Linked DNA regions of Homo sapiens: region 1 is linked to region 2. Evidence: promoter capture Hi-C in human tissues and cell types (Jung and others, 2019). All regions are on one chromosome and are shown on one strand. Each heading gives the region's core, a stretch centred on a gene start or on the middle of the fragment in contact. The rest is flanking DNA. Distances are from core to core; before and after follow the strand shown. Region 1 overlaps LOC105369851 (a long non-coding RNA gene). Region 2 holds the start of CSRP2 (cysteine and glycine rich protein 2).

Region 1 (7,431 bases), core at 2,649-5,148, 240 kb before region 2:
AATGTACTTCATTTATGGAGTGCATTCCTGTGAGATTTGTTGTCATTATTCTCCCCCTCTTTAAGCATTGTAAAAAAAATCTGTTTGTATGTCAATAACCCATGTGATTCATGAAATCATATTCTGATCCTCTTGTTTTAACCACACAAAGTAGTGGCTTGCTAGCATTATTTATATCCCAATGTGCCCTAGACATTTCAATCAAGCAGAGATGTTTGGATCAGCATGGTATAAGTACACGTGTTCTCAAATTTATTTTCACTGTTGCTTCCTATAATTAACTACTGACATAATTTCAAATAGCTAATAGTTGCTTAATATGTAGAAATAACTGAATACAACTCATCTCTGCTCTATTTTTTAAATGTATTTTTAGTGTGTATTTTATTTTCTTGATTATAAATGTAACAACTGTTCATGTAGAATTTTTGTTAATTAGGATTAGTTTGCCATGCTGATTTTTAAAACATTTTTTCCCACTTAATGTGGTGGGTCTGTTATAGAATTGTTTCTAATTTAATATTCAAATTTTTATGAAAATAGGCCAGGTGCAGTGGCTCACACCTGTAGTCTCAACACTTTGGAAGGCTGAGGTGGGCATATTCCTCGAGCCCAGGAGTTCAAGAACTGTCTGGGCAACATGGCAAAACTCCATCTCTACAAAAAATATATAGAAATTAGCAGGGCATGGTGATGTATGCCTGTAGTCTCAGCTACTCTGGAAACTGAGGTGGGGGAATCCAATGAGCCCAAGAGGTTGAGGATGCAGTGGGCCATGATCGCACCACCACACTCCAGCCTGGGCAACAGAGCGAGACCTTGTCTCAATAAATAAATAAATTCATTTTAATGAAAATAATACATTTATGCAGATTAAAATAGTCAAATACTATGATTAGGTTTATAGTGAAAAATAGCAGTCCTCTTTACTCTTCCTCCCATTCTAATTCCCATTCTTCCACAGATAACTGCTGTTTTAGTCTATTCAAACTGCTCTAACAAAGTACCTTCGACTGGATAATTTATAAACAACAGAAATGTATTGCACAGTTCTGGAGGCTGGAGAGTCCAAGCTCAGGGTGCTGGCAGACTCAGCATCTGGTGAGGGTCCATTTCCTCATAGATGGCACCTTCTAGCTCCGCCCTCACTTAGTGGAAGGGCAAAGAGGGAAACAAGCTCCCTCACACCACTTTTATAAGGGCACTAATTACATTCACTAGGGCTCTGCCTTCGTGACCTAACCACCTCCCAAAGATCCCACCTCTTAATATCAACACATTGGAGATTAGATTTCAACATATGAATTTTGGAGGGACACAAATATTCAGACCATAGCAACCACTTTGGAAATATCTTAGCTATTTTGGTGGTATATACCTTGGTAATCTGAAATAACACGTGAATACTGCTGTTTTCTGTTTTGTATTGTTGTTTTTAAAATTTCAGTATCTGCTTTGACATGCTGGTTTCTATGGGAGCCCTTCATTTCCCTGGTCTTATGTTTCCACTTGGGGCAATGTTAGCAAAAATAACTCTTTGGGCCTCTCTCTCCATTTCTCACTCCCTCCTCCAGGAAGAAGGGACTTACTTGGCTAGTGAGCAGGCCTGCCTCAGCCTCTTCTTTCTCTTGGATGAACCTGCCTGAGGCAAGGTGCCTTCAATTTGGCTCTCCCATTTGGTGAGCATATTGAGGCAGTGTCTGTTCTGTGCAATAGGTTAGTGATGAAGGGGCTAAGTCTGCTTAACTCATAGTTGAAATATTAGGAAGATCACACTCTGTGCTCCAACCCAGCATTTGTTTGACAGAAGCTATTAATGCTCCCCTCCCAGGCCCCCACCTACCTCTAACTGTAAGCTCACCTGCTGTGGTGTGACAGCTTCCACCCTGCTGACAGCCTCCCACCTTAAGCTCTAGCATCTCTTTACTTCACCACAGCAGGGCTTTCTTTGGCCCGACAGGAGCTCTTAGTTGTATAAGCAGAATGAGAAATGCAGAGGCGTTTGCGTACGCCATCTTCAACAAGTCGACCAGCCTCCCTGTCCTCTGGTGGGACAATGCAAAGGCGTGTTCCACCCTGTTTCTCAGAAGGTCTCCAGTGGGACTGAGCTCACTGACACATTCTTAATGGCTTTTCTCCTTTTCCAGTCTCTCTTTCCCATACCCTCACTCCACTTCCTAGAATCACTTCCCCCAAAACCTTCCCACACCCAAACCTTGAAGCTGATATTTTGATCTTTATCCATCTGACTCTTATTACCATCTCTCAATTGATTCTGAACAATCTCCTATGATGAAAGATGAGGATTTAAGTGGGGCATGGTGGCTCATACCTGTAATCCCAGCACTCTGGGAGGCCGAGGTGGGTGGATCACCTGAGGTCAGAAGTTCAAGACCAGCCTGGTCAACATGGTGAAACCCCATCTCTACTAAATATACAAAAATTAGCCGGGCATGGTGGCATGTGCCTGTAATCCCAGCTACTAAGGAGGCTGAGGCAGGACAATTGCTTGAACCCGGGAGGCAGAGGTTGCAGTGAGCCGAGATCGTGCCACTGAGCTCCAGCCTGGGCAACAAGAACAAAACTTCATCTCAAAAAAAAAGAAAGATGAGGATTTAAGTCTGTTTCTCTCCCCACACTCTCCACTTACATACATGCGTGCTTTTCCAATCTGCATGCCTCAAATATAGTTATACAATCAGTATTGAATTAAATTAGTATTAAATAATTACATGATTATGACCATAAGTACATATCTGATCCACATATATACTACCTTAAACTTCCTGCATCAACTTTTGTCTATAAAACCCCTCTGACATGGCCAAATACATCTGACCATCTATCAGTCCCATTTTTTCTTGGCGTTGTTGCTCCTGCCTCCTGCTCCAGCCTGGCCTGGTTGCTGTCCGACCTGCTACCCAGATTCTGACCTTTGCCACCATCATGGGATGTCCCCTGGCCTCCTCTGGTGCTGGATATCCATTTTCCTCTTTCTCAGTTTACTCTCTTATTTTAGTGGAGCCCAATAACTCCCAGGAGCTTTCTGAGAAGCAGATATGGAAGGTAAATTATTTGAGTCCTTGCTTGTCTGAAAAAATCTTTAGCTTTTTACTTTATGTAGAGTTTAAGCAGACAGAGAATTTTACTTAGAAATCATCTTCTTTTAGAATTTGGAAGTTTTAATCAATTATCATCTAGTTTCCAGTGGTTGCTACTAGGAATTTTGATCCCATTTTGATTCCTGATACTTTGTGACCTTGCTTTGCTTTTCTCTTTCTTTCCTTCTTTCCTTTTCTTTTCCCTCCCTCTCTCTCTTCTTTCTTTCCCTTTCTTTCTTTCTTTTCTTTCTTTCTTTCTTTCCTTTTCTTTCTTTCTCTCTGTCTTTCTTTCTTTTCTTCTTTCTCACTTTCCTTCTTTTTTTTTTTTTGACAGGGTCTCACTCTGTCCCCCAGGCTAGAGTGCAGTGTCAAGATCTCAGCTCACTGCAGCCTTGACCTCCTGGGCTCAAGCAATCCTTCCACCTCAGCCTCCCGAGTAGCTGAGACTACAGGCATGTGCCACCATTCCTAGTTAATTTTGTATTATTTGTAGAGATGGGGTCTCCCTGTGTTGCCCAGGCTGGTCTCAAACCCCTGGGCTCAAGCAATCTGCCTGCCTCAGCCTCCCAAAGTGTTGGGATTACAGGCGTGAGCCACTGTGCCCAGACTAATTTTTCCTTTCAAGGAGTTTTCATAGATATGTCTTTTAAAATCTTTTGTCTTTTGAAATTTCATGATGTTGTTCTTTGGTTTAGTTTTTTGACCGGACTGTAACTGAAATGTTTTCATCAGAAAACTCAGGTCCTTAAATTCTGGGAAATTGGTTTGTACGTCTCTAATGCTCTTCCTTACATATTGCATCTGTTTGTCTTGTTTGTGTGTGTGCGTGTTTTGTTTTCTTGTCTTGTTCGTGTGTGTGTGTGTGTGTTGTGTGTTTTGGGTTTTTTTTGTTTGTTTGTTTTTAAGACAGGGTCTCACTCTGTTGCCCAGGCTGAAGTGTAATGGTGCAATCATAGTTCACTGCAGCCTCAAACCTCTGGGCTCAAGGAATCCTCCTGCCTCAGCCTCCTGAGTAGCTGGGACTCTAGGTGTGCACCACCATGCCTGGCTTATTTTGCTATGTTGCCCAGGCTGGTCTTGAACTCCTGGCCGCAAGTGATCTGCCCCCTTGGCCTCCCAAAGTGCTGGGATGACAGGCATGAGTCACTGCATCTGGCATCTGTTTATCTTTTTGTTCTTTCTGGGAAATACACTTGACCGTATATTCAAGCTTCCTTTTGATTTTTCATTTCTACCATCTTATTTTTTAATGTTGAAGACCTTTAGACTATTCTCTAAATATTCCTTTAAAAATAGTGTTCCTGAGATCACAGCCTTTCTGATACAACCATTTGAGAGAACAAATTTCCACTTTTCTGTCAGGGGAGGGAACGGGTAGCCACGTAGAGAGGGATGAAGAGATGGGGAAGTGGGTCATCTCCCTACTCCTTTTCAAGATTTTTAACCAATCCTTCTGTTTTAGGCCCAATTGTATCCCTACCTGAGCTCTTCTGTGATTCTACAGTTTGCTTCTTATTAGTCCTTTCCATGCAGCCCTCCTTTACTCTGACCTTTTCTCCCCCAATGCAGACTTAAATTTCAATTCTCTGGTCTGCTAAATCAATTACTACTCATACATATGTTTCTAGGAGGTAGAATATTTTTACCATAGAATTGTAAGATGATTGACATATACTTCCAACTACCTCTCTAATAACGGCATGACATTTGCATAGTGTGTTGTAGTTTCTTTTTTTCTTTTTTCTTTTTTTTTTTTTTTTTTGAGACGGAGTCTCGCTCTGCTCTGTCGCCCAGGCTGGAGTGCAGTGGCACAATCTCCGCTCACTGCCAGCTCCGCCTCCCGGGTTCACGCCATTCTTCTGCTCAGCCTCCCGAGTAGCTGGGACTACAGGCGCCTGCCACCATGCCCGGCTAATTTTTTGTATTTTTGGTAGAGACAGGGTTTCACCATGTTAGCCAGGATGGTCTTGATCTCCTGACCTCGTGATCCACCCGCCTCGGCCTCCCAAAATGCTGGGACTACAGGCGTGAGCCACCGCGCCCAGCCTGTATGTTGTAGTTTCTGTAGTACTCTCACATATATGCTCCCATGTCATCCTTCCATCAGTTTGGTGAAAAAGGGTTTATTATTCCCATTATGCAGGCTCATTTAGCACTTAAAGCAAGATAGTGATTGCTGAATGCCAACCACTAATAAGCCAGCCTTACAGATGATAATTTGTTTAATCCTCAAAACAACTTTTTACGGTAGGAAGTATTACTATCGCCATCTTATAGTTGGGAAAATTGAGGCACAGAGGTATAGTAATTTACCCAAGTTCCATTAGCTAGTACATAGTGAAGCTGAGGCTTGGCAGTCTACCTCTAAAGTCCATGATCTTAAATCGTATTTTATGTTGCAAATAAAATGTTAAATAACAGACTCAAAAAAAGTAATTTTCTAGAGTCAGACAGGAGATAAAGGGTTAGAACAAGTACTTGAGCCAGTGTTTTTGACTCCCTGCCTAAAATGCTCTCCAAATTACCATTCAAGGTGGTTGTCAACATTGAAATTTATAGCAGAGCAGTGAGACACCTCAGAGACATAAGTTGCTAGGGATTCTGCTCTTCTTATAGAGCTGTGATAAATGCACTTGGTATGTAAATATTTGATTCTATCTACAACTGGTTTCTTAGAATGGATTTTTAGAAGCTGTATTACTGGATGAAAAATACATGAGGTTCTTGGCACAATGTTTCACACTTGTAATCCCAGCTACTCAGGAGGCTGAAGCAGAAGGATCATTTGAGCCCAGGAGTTCAAGGCTGCAGTAAGCTATGATTATGCCACTGCACTCCAGCCTGGGTGACAGAGTGAGAGCCTGTCTAAAATATAATTAATAGCTGGGCACGGTGGCTCATGCCTGTAATCCCAGCACTTTTGGAGGCTGAGGCAGGCAAATCACTTGAGGCCAGGAGTTAGAGACCAGCCTGGCCAACATGGTGAAACCCCATCTCTACTAAAAATACAAAAAAAATAAGCTGGGTGTGGTGGTGGGCACCTGTAATCCCAGCTAATTGGGAGGCTGAGGCAGGAGAATTGCTTGAACCTGGGAGTCAGAGGTTGCAGTGATCTGAGATGGTGCCTCTGCACTCCAGCCTGGGCAACAGAGCGAGACTCCATCTCTAAATAAATAAATAAATAAATGAATAAATAAATAAAGGAGGAAATAAAATATACCAGAACAAATACTAAAATATTTCTCTGGCTTACAGAAAAGGTTTTCTTCTTAATTCTGTTTATCTAAAGATTTGTAAGAGAAGTAAAAATGATACAGTGAACATAAAACCAACCAACCTAAGATTTCCCCTTTTTCTTCTAGCAGAATCCAGTATTCATGGTCTATATTACTTTTAAATAAGAGAGGAAATTGCTATAAAATGCTTTTTACTATAATAATTCCTACCAAGTCCTATAAAACTTCTGGACTTCTGCACCACTGACAGAGTTATTAAGTAAAGCCCAGAGTTTATTGATGAAACAATGCTTTAGCAAAACAGCCACTGGCAGCTTAAGTAAAAGGGAGTAAGCACTTGACTTACAAAATTTACCTGAATAATTTCTGGCTGTTTTATAAATAAATAAATAAATAAATGGATTTTCCTAAAAGGAGAGTTCTAAAAGGAGAGTTTCTAAGGAGAATATTGCTCACAGGTGAATTCCACTTTTCAGAAACAGTGAACAATTTGAACCTGGCTACTGAGGTCCAAATTTCCTCGCACCCCCAGTGATTTAGTCTACTGGCAGGGTGGGAGTTTCCCAGGCACAACTGCAGCTGCCCAAGCTGCAGCTGCAACCCAGGCACCCCTGTGCTCTTGAGAGCCAGGAGCAGGCAGGAGTCCTGCCCTCCCAGGTGCAGCTGCAGCTGCAGCTGCTCAAGCCCTGGCTGTGGACCCAGGCATCTCTGCACTCTCAGGGCTCCGGGAAGGTCCCCCAATCCCCTGCAGGCTTGGAAGTGCCTGCTCCCACTGCTTGTCTTCTCTCTGCTCTCAGCACCCAATCCGGTCATGGAGCAAAGTTGAGGCTGAGCCTGGGCACTGTTGCAATCTGGCCGGGTGTGCACATGCTCAGGGCAGTGCTGACATGCCAGCCCCCTGCCGCTTTGGGCCCCTCTGGACTTTGGGTGCCAGTGATCACAGGAGAGAGGCTGGGGGGGTGCTGAGGGCAGCTCTGCGCTGGCCTGCAGGTGCCCCTTTGCACAAACAGCCTGGGCATCATGAATGGCGGCAAGAGGCAGACAGGCTCCTGGGCAGAAGGGGGCGGGTCCCTGGTGAAGCCCCACCTTCAAGC
Region 2 (7,576 bases), core at 1,584-4,083:
AATTTGGCCCTAATGTATTACATGGTGTCTGTTCTTATTAGTCGAAGACAATAGTATTGTTGGCACAATAAGATTGTAAACAAAAAAACAAGGAACCTGATATCCTTTCCAGATCATTCACCATGTACTTCTATTAGTTCTTCCTCTGTGACTTACAACAATAAAATTTTTAACAATCAGAAATTGTGCCTGTGGTAAAAAGGAATTTGAAAAGGAAAAAATATAAAAAAAAGAAATTGTGCCCAGCTTCTCCACTATCCAGACTGAGAAATATTCCCTTAATTCAGGATTCTTAACCCAAAGGCCACAATTCCTTTTAATTCTGGGGGTTGGGGAACTTGGTACCACATACTTTATGTTACGTCATTTTGAGAAGGGGTCTGGAGGCCTCACAGGAGTGCCATGATATAAAAAGTCAGAAACCCCACCTAGGTAATCAAAGATCCAGAGGTGTCTGGGGATCCCCACCCAACAGAACCCAAGGGATGGCATGCTGGCAGTCAGGGTAAGGTGCCTTGAGGAAACCTGTGAACATCTGCACAGAGAAGAAAGCTGGCCTCCAGGCAAGGTCTAGGAAACGCTCTTCAGGTGTGAGCCAGCTCTCTCCTGAAACAGACTTTCACTGATAGCCTTTTCCCACATATATTCAACCAAGTGCACAACTTTGTCTAATTACAAGGAACTACTCCCAGGCTGGGCTGGGCTTTGTACAAGTATCAACAGGCCTTATGACAACCCTGCAAGGCATGTGCCACTACACCCATTTTACATGATGAAGTATTGAGGCCAAAGAGTAAAGTTAATTTGCCCAAGGGCATCAAACCAATGGGTACTGGAGTTGAGGTGTGAATTTGGTCCTGCCTGGCTTCGTTCCTCCCCCTTTCAGCCATGCCTCCTCTCCCATAGGGGGCTCCCTTTTGGGGTTCATTTGATTCACCTCACTTTTGACAAAGAAGAAAACCTAGAGACCCAGATCACTATAGCAATTTAGTGTCAGAGTTGCCTCTGGACTCAGGCTTCTAAAACTCCTCATTTATTGCTGTCCTCTACTCTACACCAACATTCTTGCTGTTTTAGGATAAAATTCAATCTCCCCCAAATCCAAGTGATTTTGCAATTTCATCAGGACAGGCCTCCAGCAAGTACTGCTTTCAGCACAGTACTTAGCCTATACCAGTATCAATCAATATTTGTTAAATACATTCGGAGAAATGCATTAAAAATTTATGATACGAACTTTAGATCAAATCTGCAAACAAATACCTATTGTGTGAGTCAAATTATATTTTTGTTCCCTATAATCACAACCTTATTCGCTCCTTCTTTCAGTCAATTGTCCAAGGTACCCAAGCAAGCACTGTGAGTTTCAAAGACTCATGTGATGCAGGTCTGGTCTCAAAGGTAACACAGAACCAAAAGAGCAAAGAAAACTACAATGCAGAGGAGAAAGGACCCAGAGAAATACTGACAAAGTATCAGTGACAATGGACGAGAGCGATGACCCCAGGAGTACTGGGGGAGACCACTTAGTACTTCACAACATTCTTTGTAGCTTGGCATGCAGTTCTGAAACTATGTTAGATTCTCCCTTTCAAAATCTATCACCCAATTCTTTCTTGAAAAACGTGAGTCAAAGTACAGCCAACTTTGTGGCTGTCCTATTTGAATTCTTGGCATTTTATGAGGAGAGTTTTAAAACAGGTTAATTGGAAAAGTCAAGAACTAAATACGACGATTTTCGCTGCCCGGGTTAAAAAATTACTAACTGCCCCCGCCCCACCCCCCCACCCCCCAAAAAAAATTCTGTACCGAAAAGCATTTATAAAGGGAAAATGTGCTTGGTTTGCAGACTGCAAATAAAACAGGTTAAACATTTTGGGTAGCCATTTAAGTAAAAATCGTTTAACAAATGTCCTGGCTTAGAAGGGGGAAAGGGATCCGCCGGTTTAGAAAGCCCGCCCCCGCCCCCAGGGGGTGCCTACGTGGAGCTCCTGAATCTGGCTCTGGAGAACCCAGAATGTGATTCGCAGGACCTGTCGCATAATTTCACAACCAAGCATTCTTGCATTCTTCTTTGTACCTGAATCGTAGAAAGTTCTGGAAAAAGCTAGGAGTAAGTGATTGACATTCCCTGCTGTTCCTTCAACATAGAGGGGTTCGGTGCTGGGTGGGCAGACACCACCAAACAATGGGGATGCCAGGAGCCCGGTACGGCGGCAGGAGCAGTACCCTGGGCTCGGGGGGATGTAGAAGCCCCATTCCACCCCTAGGGGACAGAACCCAGTAAGGTCGCCCTCGGTGCTCACCACACTCCGGGCAGAGGGGGCCCTGAGACTCCGACCCCCACCCCAGAGAGAGCCTGCCGCTGGACGAGGGGACCGACGGCTGCTAAGAGGCGGATTAGCAGAAACGCGAAACTCACAACCCGCCTCTCTCCCAGAGAAACCAGTATGGAGAAATTAAAGGTCATATAAGATTATTTACCTGCCCCGCGGGCCTGGGATCCCAGGGCATGGCCTGGACGGCCTCGGGGACAAGGGCAGGTGTGTTTGGGGGATAAGAGAGAGAAAATCTGGGGCGCAGGGATGAGAAGGCTGGCAGGGGCACAAATGCGGACCGGGATGGGGATGTCGGAGGAGACCGGGGCGCGCCGGCCGGGCGACAGCACGACCCCGGGAGGCGGTGGAAACCCCCTGCAACTCCCGCCCCGGGGTTGGCGGCGCCGCGGAACCGCCCCACCGCCCCTACTCACTTGAGTCGGAGGCGGGAGCACGTACCGCAGGCGGAGCTAGCGAGGCTGGGCTGGAGGGAGGGTCCAGGGAGTCCGAGATCCCAGGCGAAGCGCGCGCCGGTGCCTTTTAAAGAGCGCTCGGTGGGCGCGGCCTGTGTCCGCCCCGCCCTCCTCCCAGCCCCGCCCGCCGGATTCCCGGAGCCGCTTGCCGGGCTGGGGCGTGTAGCGGGCGGGCTGCCCTCTGCCCGCTCCGGGCTAGCCACCAGGAGACAAAAGGCAGGAGGCCCGCCTCTTCCTGCAGCTTCCCGCCCGCCCGGCATCTTCCCACGTCCCGGGACCGCTCCCTCCCAAAGGGACCCGGCAGTTCCAAAAGCCACTGGGACTTGGAGAGGGACTTCCTTCCCCTCCAGGGAGGCCCGGCGGCGGGACGGTCCCGCTGGAAAGTGGCCCCCGCCGCCCTGCGTCGGACCTGTCCACCGCGAGCGCCGATCCCCCTCTTCGCGGAGACAGTCATGGGCCGGGAGGCTCCAGCAGTAGAAAGTCAGCCAAACGGGGCTTTCCGCCACCTCCCCCTTGCCTTGTCCTTGTCAGTAAACTCAACGTGATTAACTTCCCTAGTTAACGCATATTCTCTCGTCCGATTTCCAGCTTCTGGGAATCCACAACTTCTTATTCTTAAAGAGCAAAATTCATCTAGACTAAATAAATGACGTTACGAAAACGCCCCATTCCCAAAGTGTTTCGCTCTTCCCCTCCACCAGGGCACAGCACGCGATGCTGAGGGGGAAGAAACCTAAACCCAGGCAGAAACCCCGGGCGCCACAGGCCCTGTATTTATATGTGTTGATGTCAGAAAAGCACAAGGATACCGTGACATCCGAAGGGACCTAATGCCTAAGCTACAGGATGATTTATTGTTTTAGATGAAAAGGAAAATAAACAATGCAATCTCTATCTGGTTCATATTCTAGGCCTCCTCATGACCTCTCCTGCCAGAAGCAATGATCCCGGAGAACTGATACTTGCGGAGTGGGGAGTTCAAAAAAGTCAGTGACCAAAACCCCCTCATGCCATAAATGCTATTGCCTCCTCTGGTCCAGAGTTTCTCATCCTCCACACCATTGACATCTTGGGCTGGATAATTCTTTATTGTAGGGGGCTGTCCTGTGCATTGTAGGAGGCCTCCACCCACTAGATGCCAGTTGCAACCTGCCCCCGACGTTGTGACAATCAAAAAGTCTCTGGACATTGCCAAATGCCCTCTTGGGGAGAGGGCAGGGAGCACATATCCGCATGACAACGTACAGAACCGACTTATAATATTATTATTGTTTTATTTTATATGCTGGGGCCAATCCAGGATAAACTCATTATAGCTGCCTTGTTCTCTGTCCACCAAGTACTGTCCAAAAACACATAGTGGTGATTGACATCTCCTGATACTGTGGCAGGAGTCTGGAAAGCATTCTTGCCTGCTGTGAGCTTTTCTAAATATGGGCAATCCTTATTTCAGTGATATCAGCTAGTGTAAGTGACTTGACTCACGGGCCAACAGGAAAATTCAGTCCCTCAGATTCTACATTCGCTTTAGCTCAGCTGCTTACAATGTTTATTTTTTCTTGTATAAGTTTGCCTAGTGCTTCTACTGAATGAAACTGTATCAGTGAGTCTCACTGCAGCAAACCACTGCCCTTTCTCTCCTACCCTGAGTTCTTCTCAATGCCTCTTTGTGGAAGGGGCCTCCCAAACCTGAGCTGTTTGCTTTCCGTCAAGCTCATGTTGTCCCTAAATTCCATAGCCATGTCTTATCATTTGAAATTGGGCTTGTTGGCCGGGCGTGGTGGCACATGTCTGTAATCCCAGCTACTTGGAGGCTGAGGCAGGAGAATCACTTGAACCTGAGAGGTGGAGGTTGCAGTGAGTGGAGATCACGTCAATGCACTCCAGCCTGAGTGACAGAGGGAGACTCCGTCTCAAAAAAACAAAACAAAACAAAAAAGAAATTGGGCTTGTTTCTGACCTAAAAGTGTTTCTGCTGTCTGTCCCTGTATGTGTTTGTCTCCGTGTACTTCACACTGAGTCTGCAGATGATATACAACGTGTGATTTTGAACAAATCTGTATTTGTATTTATCAACATTTAAAAAATATTTATTTTCTTTAAACATCTATTTAAACTGTTGACTCTTTTAGTTATGAACATGAAGAAATTATTTAAGAGTTTTTAGACAGAGTGGTGCAAAAGAAAGAGTATGGGCTTTGGAATCAAACACACATGATTTCAACATACAGCTCTGCCACCTATCAGTTTTGTAAGCTTGGGCTAAGTACTTGACCTCTATGCATCTGTTTCTTTATCTGTAAAAAGATAATTCTACACATCTTGTAGTGTTGTTATGAGGATTAAATTGGGTGATGTATGTAAAATGCCAAACATAGCACCTGGCACATGGTAAATACTGAATAATTGATGGTTGTTATGTTAAGCAAAGATATCTTGATGTCCTTTTTGCCTCTCAAGAAAGAAATAAAATTGTGCTTTGCTAAGTACTCATGTTGCCTTCTTGAGGGCTTGCTATTAAGAAGGTATGGAGTGTTTTCCAAAACAATTAAGAGTCTTCAGTAGGAAGCATCTGCGCGCCTGCAGAAGGATAGTGGGAAAAATGTGTCCTCAAGGAGAAGGATAAACCCTTAAGTCCACATGGTCCTAGTCTGTTTGACCCCTTCAACCTTGTAATAGGCAGAATCAAAGGTTAAATGTGTCCAGCAGGCTATTTCTTTTTCCCACTCAAAATGTGTATTATACTTGTAACAACTCTATTCTCTGGAATTCATCAACCAATTTCAAATCAAAGCCCTCTCTCAAGGTCACTGTCCTAAGGCAAGTTGAACCAAGGTTGTTGCCTTTTGTCATGACCTTGTGCTTCAAACGTAGATTTTAAAAATATTTTTATTATTTTTATTTCATGCCCCTTTTTCTTAACAAAACTCTGAATCAGATGAATGTGAATTTAAACACAAAGCCTCTTTATTTTAGGGCAAGGCTTTCTTCCCAGAAGGCAAGAAAGCTATAGTGAAGAGGAATGTCTTATTATAATGATTTTAGTATGAAAAAAAGGGAAACAATTTGCACTTTGCTAACCTACACATTTAATAACACAAAAAGAAGCAGTTTTTCTACCTTATTTCTTAGCTAAGATTTAGCAGCAGTTGTGGGAATTAAAAATTACTCATACTTAACCCTAATACTCTGTGATTTATTATCTGACAGAGAAAAGAATAATGTAAGTGATATATGCTTAAATGTTGGAAGGTAGATTAGAGTATCTTATTCTTGATATTTGTCATAGTTGCTTTTTTTAACCTGCTATAAACTCCTACTTTCTTATACTTGCTTCATTTCCTAACTCTCTTTCTCCAGTAGGCATTATTTTCATTCAGTGCTATTATCTTCTATTATGATGTTATTTATTTCTTCTTTTCAACCAGAGCTTTCTATCTTTTTGAGCTCTGCTTCTGCTTTCATATTATAGCAGAGTTTTTCTAGTTCTACTAGTAAGAAAGACACCATTAACTTCCCAGACAGCATATTCTATCCATCTTATCTTAACCCCTTAATTCCTTTATCTCACTTTTCTCCCTCTTTTTCAGCTGGTGACATCACCTTCTTCTCCTTCATTCACATTCACAGCCAGTCACCAACATTTCCTCAACCTTCCTCCACTTTGCCTCGAAGCTTCCATGTTTTCTCCTATGTTTGTACTTGCTGTCCCTGATCTTGGAGGAGCAAATGGTTCTCCCACTCCCTACCAACAGTGTCCACTCTGCCTAGGCTTTTGATCCATTTCTTTGGCATTTTTTAGTTATACAGTCATGTGCCACTTAGTGATGGGAACAGGTTCTAAGGAATGCATCATGAGACAATTTTACCATTATGCCAACATTGTAGAGTATACTTACACAAACCTACACCATATGGCCTAAGGTATAGCCTATTGCTCATGGGCTACAAACCTGTACAGCATGTGACTGTACAGAACACCACAGGCAATGGCAACACAATAGTATTTGTGTATCTAAACATATCTAAATATAGAAAAGGTACAGCAAAAACACAGTATTGTAGTGTTACAGGACCACCCTCATATTTGTGATCTGTTGTTGATTGAAAATCTTCATGTGGCACGTGATTGTACTCCCTTGCTGTTCAATTTCAGGCTCTATTGCTTTCTTTCCTTTCAAATGACAAAAATTCTGCTCACCCCGTATTTTTAAAAGCTGACATAAATATCCCTGAGTCGTGTAGTAGGTATTTGTGATTGCCTCTGTAGCATCCATTCCTCTCTGTGTGGTTTCAGGCATGTGAGTTCATGGTCCTGTTTCAGGGTGGAGCACTGGATCCAGTCAAGGCATTTGAGGCCCCGGCTTGGGGATGGTAAGCACGTGACCTAAGCCCATCCAATTAGAGTGAATCTCAGAACTCTGCTGGGGTGCGGAGTCAGAGCCAAGCTAGCCTATTCTGGAATGTGCTATGTGCATGGAGGAGGCCTTAGAGTGGTTGCAGTCATTTTTGCTAGGAACCTGGCCACGGATGACTTGACACAGACAAGAGGACAGAGAAAACAGAGCTCTGAACAAGTATTCACCAAGTTTACCTACCTGCAGGGCTTTTTCATTATGGGAGCCAATGAGTCCCCATTGCTGTTTAATCCATTTTGAGATGGATTTTCTGTTACTTGCAGTTAGGACTCCCAACAGATTGTGATGGCTTAAAATCATGTCCATGGATTCTTTGTTACTCCCCCCTTCAACAGGTAGAATTTAATTCATGCCCTTACCCTTGGGT

The links. The method cuts DNA at HindIII sites, captures the fragments that hold promoters and counts their contacts. A contact is called where the count stands out against the background at its distance.
Region 1: a fragment that was not itself captured here is called in contact with the fragment with the promoter of CSRP2 in region 2 in 1 of the 25 tissues and cell types used here (heart left ventricle).

The regions. Positions count from the first base shown.
Region 1 is chr12:76,637,926-76,645,356 of GRCh38, forward strand. All of the region lies in intron 1 of LOC105369851 (a long non-coding RNA gene), which reads right to left. Among named protein-coding and RNA genes, the nearest start is that of OSBPL8, 82 kb to the left of the region's middle. The HindIII fragment of the contact is 4,564 bases long and covers 1,617-6,180 here.
Region 2 is chr12:76,876,186-76,883,761 of GRCh38, forward strand. It overlaps CSRP2 (cysteine and glycine rich protein 2), which reads right to left and starts at 2,834. Exons shown (of 6, transcript NM_001321.3): 1 at 2,753-2,834. It overlaps LOC124902971 (a long non-coding RNA gene), which reads left to right and starts at 2,174. Exons shown (of 2, transcript XR_007063380.1): 1 at 2,174-2,465; 2 at 3,703-5,280. RefSeq lists silencers at 2,594-3,023, 3,054-3,103. The HindIII fragment of the contact is 6,431 bases long and covers 1-5,756 here.